Linked DNA regions of Homo sapiens: all the other regions are linked to region 3. The links are contacts of gene promoters, found by promoter capture Hi-C in blood cells and fetal thymus (Javierre and others, 2016). All regions are on one chromosome and are shown on one strand. Each heading gives the region's core, a stretch centred on a gene start or on the middle of the fragment in contact. The rest is flanking DNA. Distances are from core to core; before and after follow the strand shown.

Region 1 (2,700 bases), core at 116-2,615, 470 kb before region 3:
TGCCCCATAAATATCTATACCTACTATGTCCCAACAAAATTTAAAAAATTAAAATGAAATACATTATTTAAAAAATAAATTGATTATAACATCTTAAAATGTTTCCATAATCTTTTTTTTTTTTTTTGAGTTGGAGTCTCACTCTGTCACCCACTGCAAGCTCCGCCTCCTGGGTTCATGCCATTCTCCTGCCTCAGCCTCCTGAGTAGCTGGGACTACAGGTGCCTGCCACCACGCCTGGCTAATTTTTTGTATTTTTAGTAGAGATGTGGTTTCACTATGTTATCCAGGATGGTCTCAATCTCCTGACCTCTTGATCTGCCCGCCTCAGCCTCCCAAAGTGCTGGGATTACAGGCATGAGCCACCATGCCAGGCCCCAAATGTTTCCATAATCTCTTTAAAACTTTGCAGAGGTGGCACTCTAGAGAACTCTAGTCTGAATATGGCTCATGGGCTATAGAAATACTGTGCTTGCTTATTTTGTTTAACCTACTCAGTGATGACATAGACAATGTAACCAGAGAGATTCTTATTTTGAAAACAATAGAAGCAACTTAATTTTTATAGTTTGCTGCATGAGTCATAAAGTCCCTATGCCTAAAGGCATTTAAGTTTGTGACCCCCATCTTAGAGGAATATTTTAGGGACAAACATCTCTTTGTTAAGGAAACAACTCTTTAATATACAGCAATTTCTATAGTTTTTTTTCTTCTCTTTTCCACTTTAATAAAATCATTTCTATATATCTGTATCACATATATTAGATATATAGCATATAGATTGAGATCTAGATATAAATATGCATACAGTGATTACTAAAATTAGGTTTGGTTAATGTCCACAATTATTTCAGGCTGGTGAGATTTTCTGTAAGTTTTTACCTTCTCTGTATTACTTGAACTTCCAATGATGAGAATTAATTATTTTTACCATCAGTTACTATTCAAAAGATCATGAAGACCAAGATAATTAGTTATGTGCCCAGGATATTTTATATTAGGTACTAACATATTTTACATGCCAAGAAAAATTCTTTGTGGGACCTAACATTAACATCATTCTTATGGTAATTTGTAAATAATATTAATTTATTATTATCAAAATATACTTAAGATTTTTGTGTGTTAAATGAAAGGTCTAAAGTAAATTATTAATATTATTGCATTTGGGAAAAAGGCAAATATATCTCTTCAGAGTAACTGCCTATTTTTTATTTACACAAGATTTTAAAAAGTTTTTTCTTTACAGTTTGCTTAGATTAGTAAATTAACAAGATGGGTACAGTTACTTTCCTTCAGGATCAGAGTCGGCGTGGCATTGCTAAAGACAAAGTGGTGCTTCTAACAAGCCAAAGAGCTCGAGAGGTTCCAATCTGCCCCTTAGAGCCATAGGTAAATACAGATTATTTGAATGACTCTACCCAGTCTCCTCATTGTTCCAGCATGCCATGCCCATTCTCAGTTGTGTCTAGTTTTGTAGTCTCTTCTTTGTAATATACTCTCCCCACAGTTCCTACATCTCCAGAAGGGAATATGTAGAGGTATTTGAGTTGTTCCAATGCCTTACAAATGTTACTGATACATAGCAGGAATCACAGTCTCACACAATGATGAATTATCCACCCAAGGTGCCAATAGCATCTGTGTGGAGAAACCAAACCTTCAAGACTTCAAGATCCAACTCAGTTCACACTTTCTAAAATGTACACCACCTACTCACCTTCTTCTCTGGACTTTGAGAGGGTTTCTTATATGAAGCAAACATTTTAGCAAGGAATTCTATATGATTGCCTTTCTTCATTAGCCAACTGTTGTAAAGGCATAGATCCATCCTTAGACTTCTTTAGAGACCTCATCATACCCAGTATCATATGGGTGCCTGGGATAGATAAAATAAAACTATTTCAAACCCTTTTACAGTGAAGATTTAAGCTCTTGGTTGGACAGCCAATTTAGTTAAATGGTATGTCTAAGGATGCAGAAATCTGTGAACACTACATTCAAAGAGAAATAGTGTTTCCCTAAACACATAACTTTATTTGATTCCTTGATTTATTCTACTTTGAAGTTAGTAAGTTTTATTGAGATCTTGAAAAATGAGTTGAAATACTGTATTTTCATAGCTGTCTTTCCAGAATTCAAGACGCTTCACAATACTTTCATGTTTCGACAAACTAATGGTAAAATACTGTGTTTCAAATGTGTGTATAAAATTTTTTTTGATTCCTTCATGACTTTTCCTTATTTTTGTATGGCAGAATTTGTTCATCAAGGTCAACTTGGTAAATATATAATTGTGGAACATTTGATTTGAGGTTTAACTTTAGTGTGAAAGCCTATTAACTCAATCACACCTAGTGCCCTAATCTTGGTTTCTAATATTCTCCAATAAAAAGAACCTGGACTTGTTGGAGAAATGGCTGATTCTAGGACTGGGGCAGTAAGTACAAAATGAGCCTGGGACACCTTGTAGTGCAGGGAGTAAGGAAGTGCTAAAAATTTAAAATAAAATTTTAAAACTCACAATGATTCAGATATGTTAAAGGACCATAGAACGCAACTGAAAAAAACTCCTAATAGCTTAAAACCAAATGATAAAATGAATATCCACAAGTCCATACTGATCTAAACAAATAATTTAATAAATTATTCCATTATTTAAATAATTGAATAATTATTGAGTAAATAGAAGGGAGAGAA
Region 2 (2,789 bases), core at 21-2,520, 430 kb before region 3:
TCCTCCTCCAAAACCTTTGTGGTCCTTTGTGGTCCTCAGCATGATATTTTAGGCCTTGCATGACATGACCTAATTCTACCTTCCCAGCCTCGTTGTCACCGCATCCTTCCATTAGCCTGACACTAAATTCTAGCTAGAGTGCAAGAATGTTCCCACTTCCAGGACCCACTTACGCTTTCCCCAGTGTATGTCTAAAATCACCATTGTGTAATCATCCCCATTGCCCAGTTAGAATAAGCACCTCTGTTTCTATGTTTGCAAGCTTGTTCATAGTTATTTACACACTTGTCTCCCGTATCAGCCCTCTCCCACTTCAAGGCAGGATCTATATGACTCTTCATTTCTATGGCATCATCTGCCACAGCAACTAGGACATTGGTACTCATGCATACCCACTAATAGAAAGGATCAATGGCACATTTTTCACTGTGAATAGTAACTTAGTGATCTGTTTCCCAGGAGTCTGAGCAATATAAGGCACTTTTTTTTTCAGGTTCTAACCCACTCCGCCATCCCTACCTCTCCTCCTACCTTGCCCTGTTAAATTGGAGCATAATATTCCTGCTGTGCATGATAGGCAATGCAAACCTTAAGGTTCACAAACACAGCAGTGACTGAGAGCATTTTCTCTCCATGAACCTTACATTTGCAATGCATCCCCTCTTCCTGCTATTGTATAACCTACATCAATGCAGTGTTTATCTCAAATTGGTGTTAAAATAAAAACCACCAACTAAAACCAAACAAAGTACATTCTTGTGTGCAGGTAAGAAAACAGTTAGATAGTAATCATAGGTATCTCTGGATTTTTTATACTTTATCATTTCCTATATTTACCCATTTCCTGTAATAAGCATGTATTTCACAATTTTTAAAGTTATTAATATTTTAAAAATACTTCTAAGAATAATGTAGAACTCTCTTGTATGTGTGAAATAACTATGTCCAGCAGATGGCACAAAACCCCTAATCCAGAATTAAAACAGTTAAAAACAAACAAACAAACAAAAAAACTCTTGTTACTTGAAGAATGCCATGTGAAGGGCATGTATCTTAGTGACCAGGAATGAGCCAAAATGGACACTGCTTCCAGAATCTTCGTCTCCACTAGGTATGATTTGTTTATCTCTGTTATAGTCAAAGGTGAGTCATTTCAGAGGTAAGGAAGGGGCCTCTGTGATATGCAGGATGTGTGGGACCTGCAGAGGCTTCAGGGCAAGATGGACTATGCAGAACATTCTCGAAAAGTGGACAAGCTGTGTGTCAATGCGGTGTCACATCTGGAGAGGGCTTTGGAGACCATATAGTCCATGTGTTTCAAACATTGTTATTACCATTTTTTTCTAAATAAACTTCAATGTATGAAACCAAAAAAGTGAATCTCTCCTATTTAAAGCAGGGGATGGGATGGGAGGCAAGAGCCATGCTGGGCCTTCTCTTTGTCCCAGAGTAGCTCCACCCCTTGTACCTGACATAGTCAAGAACTGGCTATACTTAATCAACAATTATGGAAACCATAAAATACTTCCAAGAGGTCCCTAGAGAAAACCCCTAATGCAGTGGTTTCATTTTACTGCTGAGAAAAGGGCTGCTCAGAGGAGGAGAGTTGCAAATTAAAAATGGAAAAACATATAAAAAGCAAAAAAAAAAATCTTTAATTGCCTTTAAAGGAAAACATCAAAAAGAATATTCAAAATGCATCAATAAATTTAGTACTGATGTTTTCACAAATTTGACATCTGAAACTGGAATTTATGATATATTAAATTTCTGGTATTTTAAACATTGGATTCACTTAAATCTGTTTTATAGTTACAATGGTTTATGGAAACTACAGGAAACAGCATTTCAGCTAATGTGAGGTTTCAGGAGACATGTAAGCATATTTCTAGGTTATATTTTTGCAAATGAAGTTTATTTATATCAATAAAATATCCTTAGGTTGTAATTCCTGCACATTCTATAATTTTTCAATGCAAGTAGAAACCCAAACAGTGACTTGACCGCATGAAGCTAGTCATTTTAGAGCTTCTATAAGCCCCTAAAAACATGTCTAAATAATGTTTGCAAAGTAGATGCAACAATCTATTTAAATGCATTTACCTAAAGTTTCTTGTCAGAACGAGTCCAAATTTAACTATTCTTATAATTATCTTGGAAATTTTCCTTGTTTGGACATCCATTTCTATACGAAGCACTGCCTGTTATTTCCAGGAGCTTCCCACTTGACACTGTATTATTTCTGGTCTACGGAAGATGTATGTGTTTTAGAAGCTTTCAGAGAGGCTTCTCAGAGTGTAATGGTATCTTAACCATGTCCTAAATTAATAAATAAAAGGAAAACCCAAAGGTGAATGGGGTTTAGCAGTAGAGAGCATGGGTCTCAAATTCTAGCTTCTGCTTCTGCTAGCACCTTAAGCCCCTATTTCCCCACGTGTTGAGGTTAGAACAATTATACTGACCTGAGTTGGTGAGTAAGCCATTGTCTCTCAATTCCAAAACCACCTTTTAATGCTCTGCTTTGTGATGTTAGGACTCGGACTATGTAAACCACATTTTGGCTTTGCCAGCTCTGCCAACAGGGGTGTTGAGGGACGTGGAAGGTTGGAAGAGAAAGAAGGTGCTTGCTTGCTCCTTCCTGTTTGCTTCCAGTTTCCGTCGGTATCACCCCAGCAATGGTTTTTCCTTCCGGCAGTGGCTGTTGAATTCCAGTTCTCAGGATTCTTCCCTCAGTCTCCCAGACCAGCTTAGTATGTTCCCCACAGAGATACCAGCGGCAGCTGGCCAGA
Region 3 (2,700 bases), core at 155-2,654:
GAAAATGTGAAAAGCTCTGATTTTGAAGGGTTGCCAGAGAAAGAGGAACAGGCAGAGGAAACTGAAAGAAGAATTTTTTTTTTTTTTTTTTTTTTTTGAGACGGAGTCTCACTCTGTGGCCCAGGCTGGAGTGCAGTGGCGCGATCTCGGCTCACTGCAAGCTCCGCCTCCCGGGTTCAAGCCATTCTCCTGCCTCACCCTCCCAAGTAGCTGGGACTACAGGCAGCTGCCACCACTCCCGGCTAATTTTTTGTATTTTTTAGTAGAGACGGGGTTTCACCGTGTTAGCCAGGATGGTCTCGATCTCCTGACCTCGTGATTCACCCGCCTCGGCCTCCCAACAGGCCTGAAAGAATTTTAACAAGCAGGATGAGCATAAAGGCAAAGTGGGGTTGTCAACATCAAGGAAACAGAGTGTTGGGAAACAATGGTCGACTTTGTCAATCGCCAAAGAGACTCCCAGGAAAAATGAGGGCAACAAAAGTATCAGTTGGATTTAGGAGGCCACTGCTTACCCAAAGAGTTCAGGTAGAATTGTTGGGAGGTGCAGTGGTTGGAGAATCAACTCCGTGAATAATGAATTGTGTTGACACGGTACATAATACGGTATTTCTGACTACATTGGCGGCATTTCACTAAGTAATTACTACCTGAAGTGCCTACCTTCAGTAAGGCATCCTGTTGTTGGATGGGGAAAGAGAAGGAGGAAATAACTCTTAGCTTTACCTGTACTGTGCTTCTGAGACCCAGGTATGGACCTTCACTCCCAATTTACTATCCATGGTCTCATCCGATGTTCAGTAACTGGGTTCTCCTTTGGCAGGGAGTAGGGATTGCCTGAGAATTAAAAGGGGAGGGGAGATTTCTGAACTGGACCTCTTAGGTTATGACTAGATTGGGTGCCTGAGGCAGCAATGGGGCTTTATAAGGCTTCTTTACGCTTCATTTAACTAATTGCTTTTTTGTTCTCTCTTATTCAGTGGAGTTCCAATCTGTTCGGTTGTGGAGAACGAACCTGAGAAAAAGGATCTTTCGCAGGGTAGTTTTTGGGGGCAGAGGCTGATGTGCTGCACCCCCTAATCAGGGGTATGGTTGGCTGCAGTAGTCAAGTGAGAGGGCCGCAAAGGGAAAGGAAAAGTCGAGACTATCTTAGGGAACCAGGAGAGTCGCTGTACCTCTGAAAGATCTACGGTTTGTCTGGTCTGTAAGGAGCAAACACGGTGGAATTCCTTTCCAGATTTTTCTGGGCCTCGACCTCTGGCTTTTGGGGTACATGCCAAAAAAAAAAAAAAAAAAAAAAGCGCAGGGAGAGTCCACTAGCCTCGGTGACAGTTCCCCATTGCGGTTTCCCCTCCTCCACCCTTCTTTGCGAGCTCCTTCCCTCTGCAGAGAGTTATCCCGCCACATTAACCCCTGACTCACAGCTGGACCGCCCCGGCCCGCAGCGCCACGTCCCGGGTGGGGCCTGCCACGGCAAAGCAGCAGTCCGGCCTCGAGCGGCCCCTCGGGGGCGGCGGGGTGGGCGCCAACAGCAGTCAGGCCTGACAAGCGGCGACCTCCAAGGGTGAGGCCTCTGCGGGCCCCCGACTCACGCGCGTCCGGGCTCTGCAAGCGCGGTGGGGAGCAGGCTGCTGTGGTCGCGGGGACTGGGTTGCGGCGCGCCGCGTACGGGACGGCCCCAAACTCTCGACGCCCGGGGCAAGACGCCCACCCCCTGGGCGCTCTCGCTGGGCCAGAAAGGAAGACAGAAAAGCCGCGGGCTGACTGTGGTGGCGCTCGCCTGCAGGCAAGTACCGGGCGCTAGGGCGGGGGCCGCCGCCGGGGGCGCGGGGTGGGCTGGGGCCAGGCCGCCAGGGGCGCGGGGTGGTCTGGGGGCCAGGCCGCCTGCGCTACCTCCCCAGCCTACCCGACCCGACGGCGCGGGTGCTGGCGCTGTTGTCCCCAGCGGGGCGGGCAGGCCTTTCCGTCACTTGGCTTACTCTGAAGGGAAAATCCACACAGCTGTCTGCCTTTTTGTTTCATTTTGACTAGAAAACCCATTTTCGAAAAGACACCTCAGAACCATAAGCAAATAGCCCAGAGTCTTAAATGCTCTAAAGGCTCTGCATGAGCCCCTGCCAGGCACACAGAGCCAGTGCTGGAGGTTTTGGCATGGGTTTTCCTACTTGGCTTTTTGTGCAAAGCTAATTTGGATAAAAATAATTTGACTGGCAGCTGTGAGCTAGTTTTCAGTGTATTAGGACCTCTCCAGCTTTCCACGGTAGTAAACTTCTTAAAGAAAGTATTTTAAAATATTCTCATATTTATTATTATTTTTTAATTTATCCTTTTAATTTTGAAAAGCAAGGGTGGGAAAGGCTATATGATCTGGAGGTAAAAATACACCATTATATAGAGTTGAAGTGTCATCCCCTGAACCCACATTGCACGTCTACACAGGAGAAGAACTTGTCCTTCTCCAAGTGTTTAGTATTCCTTAGATTAGTGTTTTTCAAACAAGCCTGATGGTAAGACGCATTTGGGACTTTTGTTTAAAATGCATCCCCCCACCTCTGAAGGTTTAATTTGGTAAGCTTGATTTCCAGAATCTGTATTTCTATTTTTTTATTGTTTAATTTAATTTTATGTTCTGGGATACATGTGCAGGACTTGCAGGTTTGTTACATAGATAAACGTGTGCCATGGTGGTTTGCTGCACCT
Region 4 (2,898 bases), core at 153-2,652, 450 kb after region 3:
ATTGCTCTGAACATCTACTGTTTGTTTTTATGAAAACAATGAAAGAAATATAAGACAGATGAAATAAAAGTTCTTTAGCATTTGTAAGAAATATTTAAGCACATTGGGCCAGGCACGGTGGCTGAAGCCTGTAATCCCAGCACTTTGGGAGGCCGAGGCAGGTGGATCACGAGGTCAGGAGATCGAGACCATCCTGGCTAACATGGTGAAACCCCATCTCTACTAAAAAATACAAAAAATTAGCCGGGCGTGGTGGCAGGCACCTGTAGTCCCAGCTACTCGGGAGGCTGAGGCAGGAGAATGGCGTGAACCCGGGAGGCGGAGCTTGCAGTGAGCCGAGATCGCGCCACTGCACTCCAGCCTGGACGACAGAGCGAGACTCCATCTCAAAAAAAAAGAGCTTTCAAGATCTGTTTAGAAAGATAGCCAAGATATCTATTTGGACGAGTTGTGAAAAATTACATGTCTTAATTTAATGTCTGATTTAAGTTTAGTGTTTCACACCTTTTTTTTTTTTTTTTTACACTGTAAAAACACAGTAGCAGAGGTAAACAGAAAAGGGATGAACTTTTTTTTTTTTTTTTTTTTTTTTTTTCAAATTTCTGAGGACCCAATTCTGGGTGTCACCAGCATACATGTTAAAGCTTGATTTTGTTGTCATTATTTACTTTTCATTATCCCGTTACTTTAATTGGTCATAATCTTCATAAAACCAAAAATAACTCATTTTTTTAACACTTTTGAGATTAGTTTTCTATTTATCTAAATTTTCATCACCTATTTCATGTGTGGAAACCTGCGATTATATATGAATTTCTATTTGTTTAAACTTGACCACTGCACCATACCATCTCCAGAATTGTTTGGCTTGTTTTCTTTCCTAAATGAAATTTTCATTGGCATGTGATTTAAAAGTAGCTTTGCTGCTTATTTCATGATATGCCTGCTGTGGTGTGAAAGAGTTTGGATTGTATTGCATGCTTTTAGAATTATTATCTGAATATATTTTAGGATTTTCAAATTTTTATGGGGCAACTTTTTTGTATGCATTAATGTTTAAAAATGTAAACGTTAAAATATCTTTAAATGAAGATATTAAAAATATTCTGCATGTTTGTTGTATAAGTAGATTTTGGGGCCCAATGCCATATAGCATGCTATTAACATCACTTCCAATAAGTATTATTATGGGCTGATTGCTAAATTTTACCTGAACTGATATCATGTCAGACATCTTTTAAGATATTCTTTTGAGTGATGACAGTTATATGCAAAGGGTATATTGATGTAGCTGTTTAAAGACCTTTTGTAATGTGGTATACCAAATTCAGCCATTCATTTTTGGTATTGGATACATGATAGTATGAAAGAAGGTGTAGGTTAAGAAGTTTGTGTTTAAGTTAAGGGAGTTATTTTTGGGGCAACTAAGACTGCATACTCTTAAGAACAGATTTACGGCCGGGCGCGGTGGCTCACGCCTGTAATCCCAGCACTTTGGGAAGCCAAGACAGGTGGATCACGAGGTCAGGAGTTCAAGACCAGCCTGGCCAAGATGGTGAAACCCCATCTCTACTAAAAATATAAAAATTAGCTAGGTGTGGTGGTGGGCGCCTGTAATCCCAGCTACTTGGCAGGCTGAAGCAGAGAATTGCTTGAACCTGGGAGGCAGAGGTTGCAGTGAGCCGAGATCACACTCCAGCCTAGGTGACAGAGTGAGACTCCATCTAAAAAAAAAAAAAAAAAAAAAAAGAACAGATTTACAAATGAGGGAATGTGATATGCATGCACCTGTCGTAAATGGACAACCCTGGATTCCTGTGAACCAATGGGTAAGGACTGTCATGCATTGGTTTCTTGATTTATTAAAATTGGGATAATACTGAACAAAAATGTGATGTTTAAGGTCATTCATTGTTTTATATATGTTGTAAAATTATTTGTAGTGTTTTTGGGGTAACTTTTGGCTTACTGAGTTAAGTAATCTTAATGATTCTTTGTTTCAGGTCATAAGAAGTTATTAAATGGTTGGTCCCTCTTAAAAATCACTAAATTATAGGTCTATGAATGAATTTTTCACTCTTCTATAGATTGCACTCAATTAACTAATGATCTTCCCTACTGAATTTTTCCAGATAAAACAATACTACGTGGGAAAGCTTCTATTGTAGTGTTGTTAAAAATTTTGTGGTCACATCACATATTCTTTTGAAAATCTGATAAAAGCTGTGGGTTTTTACCAGTAAATATGTATATGTATATAGGTGGAATATTTTGTGCACAATTTCAAATAGTTCATGGATCTGCCTGGGCCTCTTCATGGGCTTTGTGCTAGGGACCCCTGCTCTTTTATGTATCGATTCATTTCCTGTCAGTCAGCAAAGACTGTTCTTTTAAATGTCTTTGGATATGGTGTATAAAAGTAACTATAAATGCTAATTATATAATTTTAAAAGATCTTAACGCCATGTAGTATTGTATTACGTGTTTTATCTTTATATCTATGTTTGATTTAATATGGATTCTATGTGGGTTTACTGTAGAATATTTTCCTTTTTGATTTGCTGTTTGATTTGATAACTTGGGCTTGTCTTTTGTATACTAAGGAAAAATTTTTAAAAACATTTTCACAATACAAATTTCACGTGGAGCCACTTCGGATACTGTTTTTGTGATACATTTGTAGATATGTCTCTAAGACATGACTCCTCTTTTCTTCATTCTAATCATTTTCCTACTGCTATAACTAAACAAAGACTTACTAATTACACAGGCTGGAAGCGCAATTCATTGACCCCGAGGACAACTGTTTTCCCTTGCCCTGGCTGTGAGCATGATGTGGATCTTGGAGAACGAGGAATCAATGGTCTGTTTCGAAACTTCACTTTGGAAACTATTGTG
Region 5 (2,790 bases), core at 272-2,771, 450 kb before region 3:
TGTGTTGAACCAGCCTTGCATCCCAGGGATGAAGCCCACTTGATCATGGTGGATAAACTTTTTGATATGCTGCTGGATTTGGTTTGCCAGTATTTTATTGAGGATATTTGCATTGATGTTCATCAGGGATATTCGTCTAAAATTCTCTCTTTTTGTTGTGTCTCTGCCAGGCTTTGGTATCAGGATGATGCTGGCCTCATAAAATGAGTCAGGGAGGATTCCCTATTTAACAAATGGTGCTGGGAAAACTGGCTAGCCATATGTAGAAAGCTGAAATTGGATCCCTTCCTTACACCTTATACAAAAATTAATTCAAGATGGATTAAAGACTTAAATGTTAGACCTAAAACCATAAAAACCCTAGAAGAAAACCTAGGCAATACCATTCAGGATATAGGCATGGGCAAGAACTTCATGTCTAAAACATCAAAAGCAATGGCAACAAAAGACAAAATTGACAAATGGGATCTAATTAAACTAAAGAGCTTCTGCACAGCAAAAGAAACTACCATCAGAGTGAACAGGCAACCTACAGAATGGGAGAAAATTTTTGCAATCTACTCATCTGACAAAGGGCTAATATCCAGAATCTACAAAGAACACAAACAAATTTACAAGAAAAAAACAAACAACCCCATCAACAAGTGGGCGAAGGATATGAAGAGACACTTCTCAAAAGAAGACATTGATGCAGCCAATAGACACATGAAAAATGCTCATTATCACTGGCCATCAGAGAAATGCAAATCAAAACCACAATGAGATACCATCTCACACCAGTTAGAATGACGATCATTAAAAAGTCAGGAAACAACAGGTGCTGGAGAGGATGTGGAGAAACAGGAACACTTTTACACTGTTGGTGGGACAGTAAACTACTTCAACCCTTGTGGAAGTCAGTGTGGCGATTCCTCAGGGATCTAGAACTAGAAATACCATTTGACCCAGCCATCCCATTACTGCATATATACCCAAAGGACTATAAATCATGCTGCTATAAAGACACATGCACATGTATGTTTATTGCGGCACTACTCACAATAGCAAAGACTTGGAACCAACCGAAATGTCCAACAATGATAGACTGGATTAAGACAATGTGGCACATATACACCATGGAATACTATGCAACCATAAAAAAGGATGAGTTCATGTCCTTTGTAGGGACATGGATGAAGTTGGAAACTATCATTCTTAGCAAACTATCGCAAGGACTAAAAACCAAACACCGCATGTTCTCACTCACAGATGAGAATTGAACAATGAGAACACTTGGACAGAGGAAGGGGAACATCACACACTGGGGCCTGTTGTGGGGTTGGGGGAGTGGGGAGGGATAGCATTAGGAGACATACCTAATGTAAATGAGGAGTTAATGGGTGCAGTACACCAACATGGCACATGTATACATGTGTAACAAACCTGCACATTGTGCACATGTACCCTAGAACTTAAAGTATAATAAAAAAAATTATATATATATATGTATATATATAAAGTCACTTCCTTGTTTTGGTCTTAGTTATGACACATATGTAGGTATCCCTAAACATATTGTGATTTTCCTTTTGTAATTTGCTTTGTTAGTCTGATCATGAGTTGAGATTCTTCCATGATGGTACATGTAGCTGTTCAAATATTTTCACTTCTATATGTATTCCACTGTATAAATATACCACAAGTTATTTATCTTTTCCATTGTTGATGGACATTTGGATTATTAACAGTTTATTTTCTTTGCTATTTCAGTGATGCCATGAAACTTCTTAAACATATCTCCCTATACATGTATTAGACTTTTTCCAAGATATTAATTTATACTCAGGAGTGAAGATGTTAGGTCATAAGGCACATAGGTAACACTGAGCTGTTTTTAAATAGTGGTTGTACCTTTTTACACTTAATTCATATCTCATAGCTTCATCAGCTTTGATGTCAACAGACTAAATTCTGACTCCCTGGGGAGTATGGCACTTCTATGTATGTGCTGATCAGGTTCGGTATCCTGAATGTTTATTTGTTGTTTCCTCTATGAAATGTCTGTTTATCATTTTATTAATTTGTCTATTAGGATATTTACACTTTTCTTATTGACTTGTAAGATTCTTCATATATTTTGGATACTGATTTTTTATGTTATTAATAACTTCTCCTACTTTATGGTGTGTCTTTCACTGTTTTTATGGAGTTTTTAATGGGCATATTAATTTTAATGTAGTTAAATTTATCATTTTCCTTTATAGTTTTCTTAGTTTATTATTTTTTATTTTATTTATTTATTTATTTATTTTTTGAGATGGAGTCTTGCTCTGTCATCCAGGCTGGAGTGCAGTGGCATGGTTTCGGCTCACTGCAACCTCCGCCTCCTGGGTTCAAGCGATTCACCTGCCTCAGCCTCCCAAGTAGCTGGGACTACAGGCGCGTGCCACCACGCCCAGCTAATTTTTTGTATTTTTAGTAGAGACGGGGTTTCACCGTGTTAGCCAGGATGGTCTAGATCTCCTGACCTAGTGATCCACCCACTTTGGCCTCCCAAAGTGTTGGAATTACAGGTGTGAGCCACCGTGCCCAGCCAGTTTACTTAGTTTATACTTACGATGCACTAACAATCATTGTACTTGATGATAGTCCTGTGCCCATTTAATATCCTGAGTTCATTCCCATGGTTATATTATTTATCCTTCTAATGATACATTTTTGTTACTTTTAAATCATCTTTCCTACTAAAGCCATTACTCTATTACACGGCTATTGAAGCCTTTTTAAAAAATCGATTCCTAATTCGGGATT
Region 6 (2,902 bases), core at 375-2,874, 500 kb before region 3:
TGGGATCAACCTAAGTGTCCATCATTGGATGACTGGATAAAGAAAATATGGTGTGTATATATAGACAATGGAACACTATTGAGCCATAAAAAAGAACAGAATCATATCTTTTGCAGCAACTTGGATGAAACTGGAGGCCATTATCTTAAGTGAAACAAGTCAGACACAGAAAGACAAATACTGCATATTCTTACTCATAAGTGGGAGCTAAATAATGTGTACACATGGATGTAAAAAGTGGAATGACAGACAATGGAGACTCAGAAGGGAGAGGAGGTGCTGCGAGGGTGGATAATGAGAAATTACCTAAAAGTCCTGAATTCACCATTATGAAATCTATGCATGTAACAAAATTTCAGTTGTACACCATGAATTTATACAAAGAAAAATAAATAAATGGCAAAAAACAGACGTATTAAAGTGAGATGAGATGAAATTTTAAAATCCCTTCAATCATATTCTGCAAAAAGCTATTAATGTCAAGTTTTTTTTTCAATTGGCCCTCTCATTTATTAAATCTAAACAATAAGAGATAAAAAGAAGTGTCTTTCAACCAGTCTTTGACAAGGGCACCAAGGATACACCATGGGAAAAAGCCTTTTCAACTAATGGTACTGAGAAAACTGAAAATCTACATGCAAAAAAAAAAAAAAGGAACTGGACCTTTATCTTATACCATGCACAAAAATTAACTAAAAATGAATTAAAGACTTAAATGAAAGATCTGAGACTATAAAATTTCTAGAAAAAAATACAGGAAAAATAGCTCCTTAGCACTGGCCTTTGCAATGATTTTTTGGATAGGACACCAAAAGCGTATCACTTTTTGGATATGAAATACATAACAAAAGCAAAAACAAACAAGTGTGATTATATCAAACTAAAAAGCTTCTACACAACAAAGGAAACTTAACAAAATGAAAAGGCAACCTATAGAATGTGAGAAAACAGAGGTTCGGCATCCCTAATCCAAAAATCCAAAATCTAAAATACTCCAAAATCTGAAACTCTTTGAACTCCAACATGATACCATAAACAGAAAATTTCCCACCTGATCTCATATGACAGGTCACAGTCAAAACTTTGTTTCATACACAAAATTATTTAAAATATTGTGTAAGATTACCTTCAGGCTATGTATATAAGGTGTATTTGAAACATAAATGAATTCAGTGTTTAGACTTGCTTACCATCCCCAAGACATCTCATTATGTATATGCAAATATTCCAAAATTCAAAAAATCCAAAATCCAAAACACTTCTGGTCCCAAGCATTTCAGATACGTGATACCCAACCTGTATTTGTAAACCATGTATAAGAGGTTAACATACAAAATACATAAGGAACTCACAAACTCAATAGCAGGAAAACTAATAACCCATTTAAAAACTGGACAAAGGAACTGAACAGACATTCTCCCCACCAAAAAAAGGCATAAAAATGATCAACAGGTATATAAAAGAGTGGTCAATATCATTAATCATCAAAGAAATGCAAATCAAAAGCATAATACAACATGACGTTACATCGTTAAAATACCTATTATCAAAAAGACAAGAGACAGCAAGTGTTAGGAAGACAGCAGAGAAAAAGAAACCATTGTACAGTGTTGGTGGGAATGTAAATTGGTACAGCCTTTATGAAAAACAGTATGGAGGTTCCTTAAAACATTAAAAATAAAACTATCATACAATCCAACAATCCCACTCCTGGTTTATACGCAAAGGAAATGAAATCAGTTGAAGAGATATCTGCACCCTCATGTTCACTGCAGTATTATTCACAATGGCCAAGATAAGGAAACAACCTAAGTGTCTGTCAACAAATGAACAGATAATGAATGGAATATTATTCAACCTTTAAAAAGAAAACACTGCCATTTGTGACAAAATGGATGAACCTGGAGGGTGTTATGCTAAGTGAAATAAGCCAGGCACAGAAAGACAAAACACTGTATGAGCTAATTTATACGCATACTCTAAAAGTTTAACTCACTGAAGCAGAGAGTAGAATGGTAGTTGCCTGGGGATGGGGTATGAGGGAAATGAGGAGATGCTGGTCAGAGGGTACAACTTTTAGCTATAAAACAAATTAAGTTCTGGGAATCTAATGTATGGCATGGTGACTATAGTTAATAATACCACGTTGTTTACTTTAAGTTTTCAAAGACAGTAGATCTTAAATGTCCTCACGCACACACTCACCCACACATAAAAGGTGGTAACTGTGTGGTGACAGATATGTTGATTAATTTGATTATGGTAATCATTACACAATGTATACAGCTATCAAATCATCACATTGCACACCCTGAATACGCATAATTTTTGTTTATCAATTATACCTCGATAAAGCTTAAAAAAGAAGTTTTTAAAATGGAATAAAAATAAACACCTTTTGATTTTTTAACATTATTTCATTGATCTTACCCTCTTTGAATTCAGAATCACAGTCTTTCCTCAGTATCTAGCGAGGGCTGGTTCCAGGACCCCCTACAGACACCCAAAACTGCAGATACTCAAGTCCCTCATATAAAATGACACAGTATTTAAATATAATCTACACATATCCTCCTTTATACTTTAAATCATCTCTAGATTATTTATAATAACTAATACAATGACAACACATCATTTCTGTGGATTTAACATAGTACTCAGCACATGGCAAATTCAAGTTTCACTTTTTGGAATTTTTTGTTTCCCAAATATTCTTGATCTGCTGCGAGTTTAATCCATGAATACGAAATCCAGGGATACAGAGGGCTGACTGTACTACCAACATGTGTTCTGCTGCAAGCACCCCACAGTTTATGTGGGTAGGACCCTAAGTTACCATAAAACAGTTAAAGTCATTGCATGTACACCTTTTTTCATCATATAAGTCAGTGTAATATATTTT
Region 7 (2,700 bases), core at 9-2,508, 440 kb after region 3:
AAGTCCAGGCTCCCTGAAGGGCTGCAGCTCTTCTCTCCTCTCTTGTCTCCTCATCGTCACCCACAACATGGCGAGCAGCAGGGTGTATTTGACACAGTTTGTGTTACAGCTTGTTTGGTCCTGCCATTTGGCAGGTCCAGAGTTCCTGTACTGTGTCCAGGAAGAATGAGCTACATGGACAACTGGAGGGTGAACAAGGTGCTTTATTGAGCAAAAGAGTAGCTCTCAGGAGACCTGTCATGGGTAGCTGCTTTCTGCAGGCAGTTCCTCCCGACAACTGCAGCTCTCAGCAGAGAAGAGACCCGGAGTGGGTACCTCCTCTCTGCAGGCAGGTCATTTTGTCGAGTGTGCAGTCCTCAGTGGAGAGGAGACCCAAGTGGGTAGCTCTTACCTGCAGGCAGGTCGTCCTATCATCTGCCAGAGTCTGGCTGAGTTTGCGGTTTTTATGGGCTTCAGAGGGGAGGAAGTGTGTGCTGATTGGCCCATGGGTGGCCATGGGTGGGCCTGGAAAATTCACTGTAAGTTTTCACTCCAGTCAGTGGAACTGGCAGCCTGGACCCTAGGCTTCAGGCTATCCCTGGCTTGAAGGTGGGGTTTCAGCAGGGACCTGTCCCTTTCCTCCCAGGAGCCTGTCTCCCTCCCACTGCTGTTCATGGTGCCCAGACTGTTTTAGCTGAGGGACGCCTGCAGTACCACGTTGAGTCACCCTCAGCCCTGCCCTTGGCCTCCCTCCCACGTTCATCAGCGCCCAAAGTCCAGAGGGAGCTGAGGTGGCAGGGGGCTGGTGTGTCAGCATCTCCTCAAGCACACACACACCTGGCCAGGTCATGTCAGTGCCCGGGCTTGGCCACAGCTTTTCTCCAAAGTCAGAGTGGGCACTGGGAATGGGGAGAGGCCAAGCAGTAGGAGCAGGCACTTCTGAGCATGTGGGGGAAGAGAGGCATCCTGGGCCCCCGAGAGCATAGGAATGCCCTAGTCCACAGCTGGGTGGCTGCAATTGCACCCAGGAGCATGGGGCTCCCTCCGCACCAACTCGGAAGGGAGAAGGGCTCCTGCCTGTTCCTGGGTCCCGCTGGCTCTGCAGAGCAAGCAGGTCCGGCTGTGCCTTCCCAACTGCAGCCAGCATCTTTGCAGCAGCTGCTCCAGATGGGCTGCAGCTGCCATCACTGGGACTTGGTGCCCTGTGTCCCAGCTGTTCCAGTACCAGTTGTGGCTAAAAGGGGCCAAGGTACAGTTCAGACCATTGCCTCAGAGGGTGCAAGCCTTGGTGGCTTACACATGGTGTTGGGCCTACCAGTGCACAAAAGTCAAGAGTTGAGGTTTGGAAACCTCTGCCTAGATTTCAGAGGATGTACAGAAACACCTGGATATCCAGGCAGAAGTCTGCTGCAGGGGCGAAGCTCTCATGGAGAACCTCTGCTAGGGCAGTGCAAAGGGGAAATGTGAGATATAAGCCGCCACACAGAGTCCCCACTGGGGCACTCCCTAGGGGAGCTCTGAGAAGAGGACCATGGTCCTCCAGACCCCAGAATGGTAGATCCACCAACAGCTTTCATCATGCGCCTGGGAAACCTGCAGATACTCAATGCCAGCCATGAAAGCAGGTGGTGTGTGGGCTGTACCCTGCAAAGCCACAGGGGTGGAACTGCCCAAGGCCATGGCAGTCCACCCTTTGGATCAGCGTACCCTGAATGAGAGACATTGAGTCAAAGGAGATCTCACTTGTGAGCTTTATGACTTAATAACTGTCCTTTTGGGTTTCAGACTTTCATGGGACCTGTAGCCCCTTTGTTTTGGCCAATTTTTCCCATTTGGAATGGGAGCATTTGTCCAATGCCTGTACACCCATTGTATCCTGGAAGTAACTAACTTGCTTTTGATTCTCCAGGCCCCTAGGCAGAAGGGACTTGCTTTGTCTCAGATGAGACTTTGGACTTGGACTTTTGAGCTAATGCTGAAATGAGTTAAGACTTTGGGGGACTGTTTGGAAGCATGATTGGTTTTGAAATGTGAGGACATGAGATTTGGGAGGGGCCAGGGCCACAATGATATGGTTAGGTTCAAATCTTATCTTGAATTGTAATCCCAAGGTGTTGAGGGAGAGACCTGGTGGGAGGCCATTGAATCACAGGGGTAGATTTTCCCCATGCTGTTCTTGTGATAGCGAATTCTCATAAGATCTGATGGTTTTGTAAGGCAGTATCCCTGCTCTTGCTCTCTCTCACCTGCCACCACGTAACACAGATCTGCTTCCCCTTCTGCCATGATTGTAAGTTTCTTGAGGACTCCCTAGCCATGTGGAACTGTGAGTCACTTAAATCTCTTTTCTTTATAAATTACCCAGCCTCAGGTAATTTTCTTTATAGCAGTGTGAAAATGGACTAATACATACTCATAAAGTGCTTTTAAGATAATTGCTTTGATATACAGCATGAGAACCTCAGGCATTAATGAAGAATGGTCGCATTTAATGTAGAAAATTGCTGATAATTCAGCTTGTAAATAGATACCAACTAGGTTTCCATGAACATACTGACTCAGCTAGTGTTTAATAGCTCCTGTTATTTGTCAGTCACAGTGTTAATTCACTAAATAAGAATATAGTCTTACTCTTAGTGCTGTATTCAAAATTTTTATTGACATGATCTACTTTTAGGATTTCACCGAAGTCCTAAATCAGTGCACTGGTGATGGAGATTC

The links. The method cuts DNA at HindIII sites, captures the fragments that hold promoters and counts their contacts. A CHiCAGO score of 5 or more calls a contact.
Region 1: a fragment that was not itself captured here is called in contact with the fragment with the promoter of TICAM2 in region 3 in 17 of 17 cell types (monocytes, naive B cells, naive CD8 T cells and 14 more); the score reaches 21.3 in monocytes.
Region 2: a fragment that was not itself captured here is called in contact with the fragment with the promoter of TICAM2 in region 3 in 8 of 17 cell types (monocytes, naive B cells, total B cells and 5 more); the score reaches 9.4 in monocytes.
Region 4: a contact is called between a fragment that was not itself captured here and the fragment with the promoter of TICAM2 in region 3, in 6 of 17 cell types (naive B cells, M2 macrophages, monocytes and 3 more). The highest score is 7.6, in naive B cells.
Region 5: a contact is called between a fragment that was not itself captured here and the fragment with the promoter of TICAM2 in region 3, in 14 of 17 cell types (total CD4 T cells, naive CD8 T cells, M2 macrophages and 11 more). The highest score is 11.5, in total CD4 T cells.
Region 6: a fragment that was not itself captured here is called in contact with the fragment with the promoter of TICAM2 in region 3 in 14 of 17 cell types (erythroblasts, M0 macrophages, naive CD4 T cells and 11 more); the score reaches 11.9 in erythroblasts.
Region 7: a fragment that was not itself captured here is called in contact with the fragment with the promoter of TICAM2 in region 3 in 10 of 17 cell types (monocytes, total CD8 T cells, total B cells and 7 more); the score reaches 8.3 in monocytes.

Annotation. Positions count from the first base shown.
Region 1 is chr5:116,071,803-116,074,502 of GRCh38, reverse strand. No RefSeq gene overlaps it. Among named protein-coding and RNA genes, the nearest start is that of COMMD10, 12 kb to the left of the region's middle. The HindIII fragment of the contact is 6,657 bases long and covers 1-2,700 here.
Region 2 is chr5:116,035,795-116,038,583 of GRCh38, reverse strand. The region is part of intron 1 of ARL14EPL (ARF like GTPase 14 effector protein like); the gene reads right to left. Among named protein-coding and RNA genes, the nearest start is that of ARL14EPL, 4.7 kb to the right of the region's middle. The HindIII fragment of the contact is 2,012 bases long and covers 265-2,276 here.
Region 3 is chr5:115,601,183-115,603,882 of GRCh38, reverse strand. TICAM2 (TIR domain containing adaptor molecule 2) reads left to right here and starts at 1,404. Exons shown (of 2, transcript NM_021649.7): 1 at 1,404-1,786. The region is part of intron 3 of TMED7-TICAM2 (TMED7-TICAM2 readthrough); the gene reads left to right. TICAM2-AS1 (TICAM2 antisense RNA 1) reads right to left here and starts at 1,728. Exons shown (of 3, transcript NR_109875.1): 1 at 1,423-1,728; 2 at 727-837. RefSeq lists a silencer at 1,413-1,912 and enhancers at 1,532-2,054, 2,003-2,082. The HindIII fragment of the contact is 4,479 bases long and covers 1-2,575 here.
Region 4 is chr5:115,147,267-115,150,164 of GRCh38, reverse strand. TRIM36 (tripartite motif containing 36) reads left to right here. Exons shown (of 10, transcript NM_001300759.2): 3 at 2,771-2,898. Among named protein-coding and RNA genes, the nearest start is that of TRIM36, 21 kb to the left of the region's middle. The HindIII fragment of the contact is 1,512 bases long and covers 647-2,158 here.
Region 5 is chr5:116,054,334-116,057,123 of GRCh38, reverse strand. The region is part of intron 3 of ARL14EPL (ARF like GTPase 14 effector protein like); the gene reads right to left. Among named protein-coding and RNA genes, the nearest start is that of ARL14EPL, 23 kb to the right of the region's middle. The HindIII fragment of the contact is 5,559 bases long and covers 1-2,790 here.
Region 6 is chr5:116,098,270-116,101,171 of GRCh38, reverse strand. The region is part of intron 4 of COMMD10 (COMM domain containing 10); the gene reads right to left. Among named protein-coding and RNA genes, the nearest start is that of COMMD10, 15 kb to the right of the region's middle. The HindIII fragment of the contact is 1,467 bases long and covers 891-2,357 here.
Region 7 is chr5:115,164,043-115,166,742 of GRCh38, reverse strand. The region is part of intron 1 of TRIM36 (tripartite motif containing 36); the gene reads left to right. Among named protein-coding and RNA genes, the nearest start is that of TRIM36, 4.5 kb to the left of the region's middle. The HindIII fragment of the contact is 4,022 bases long and covers 1-2,700 here.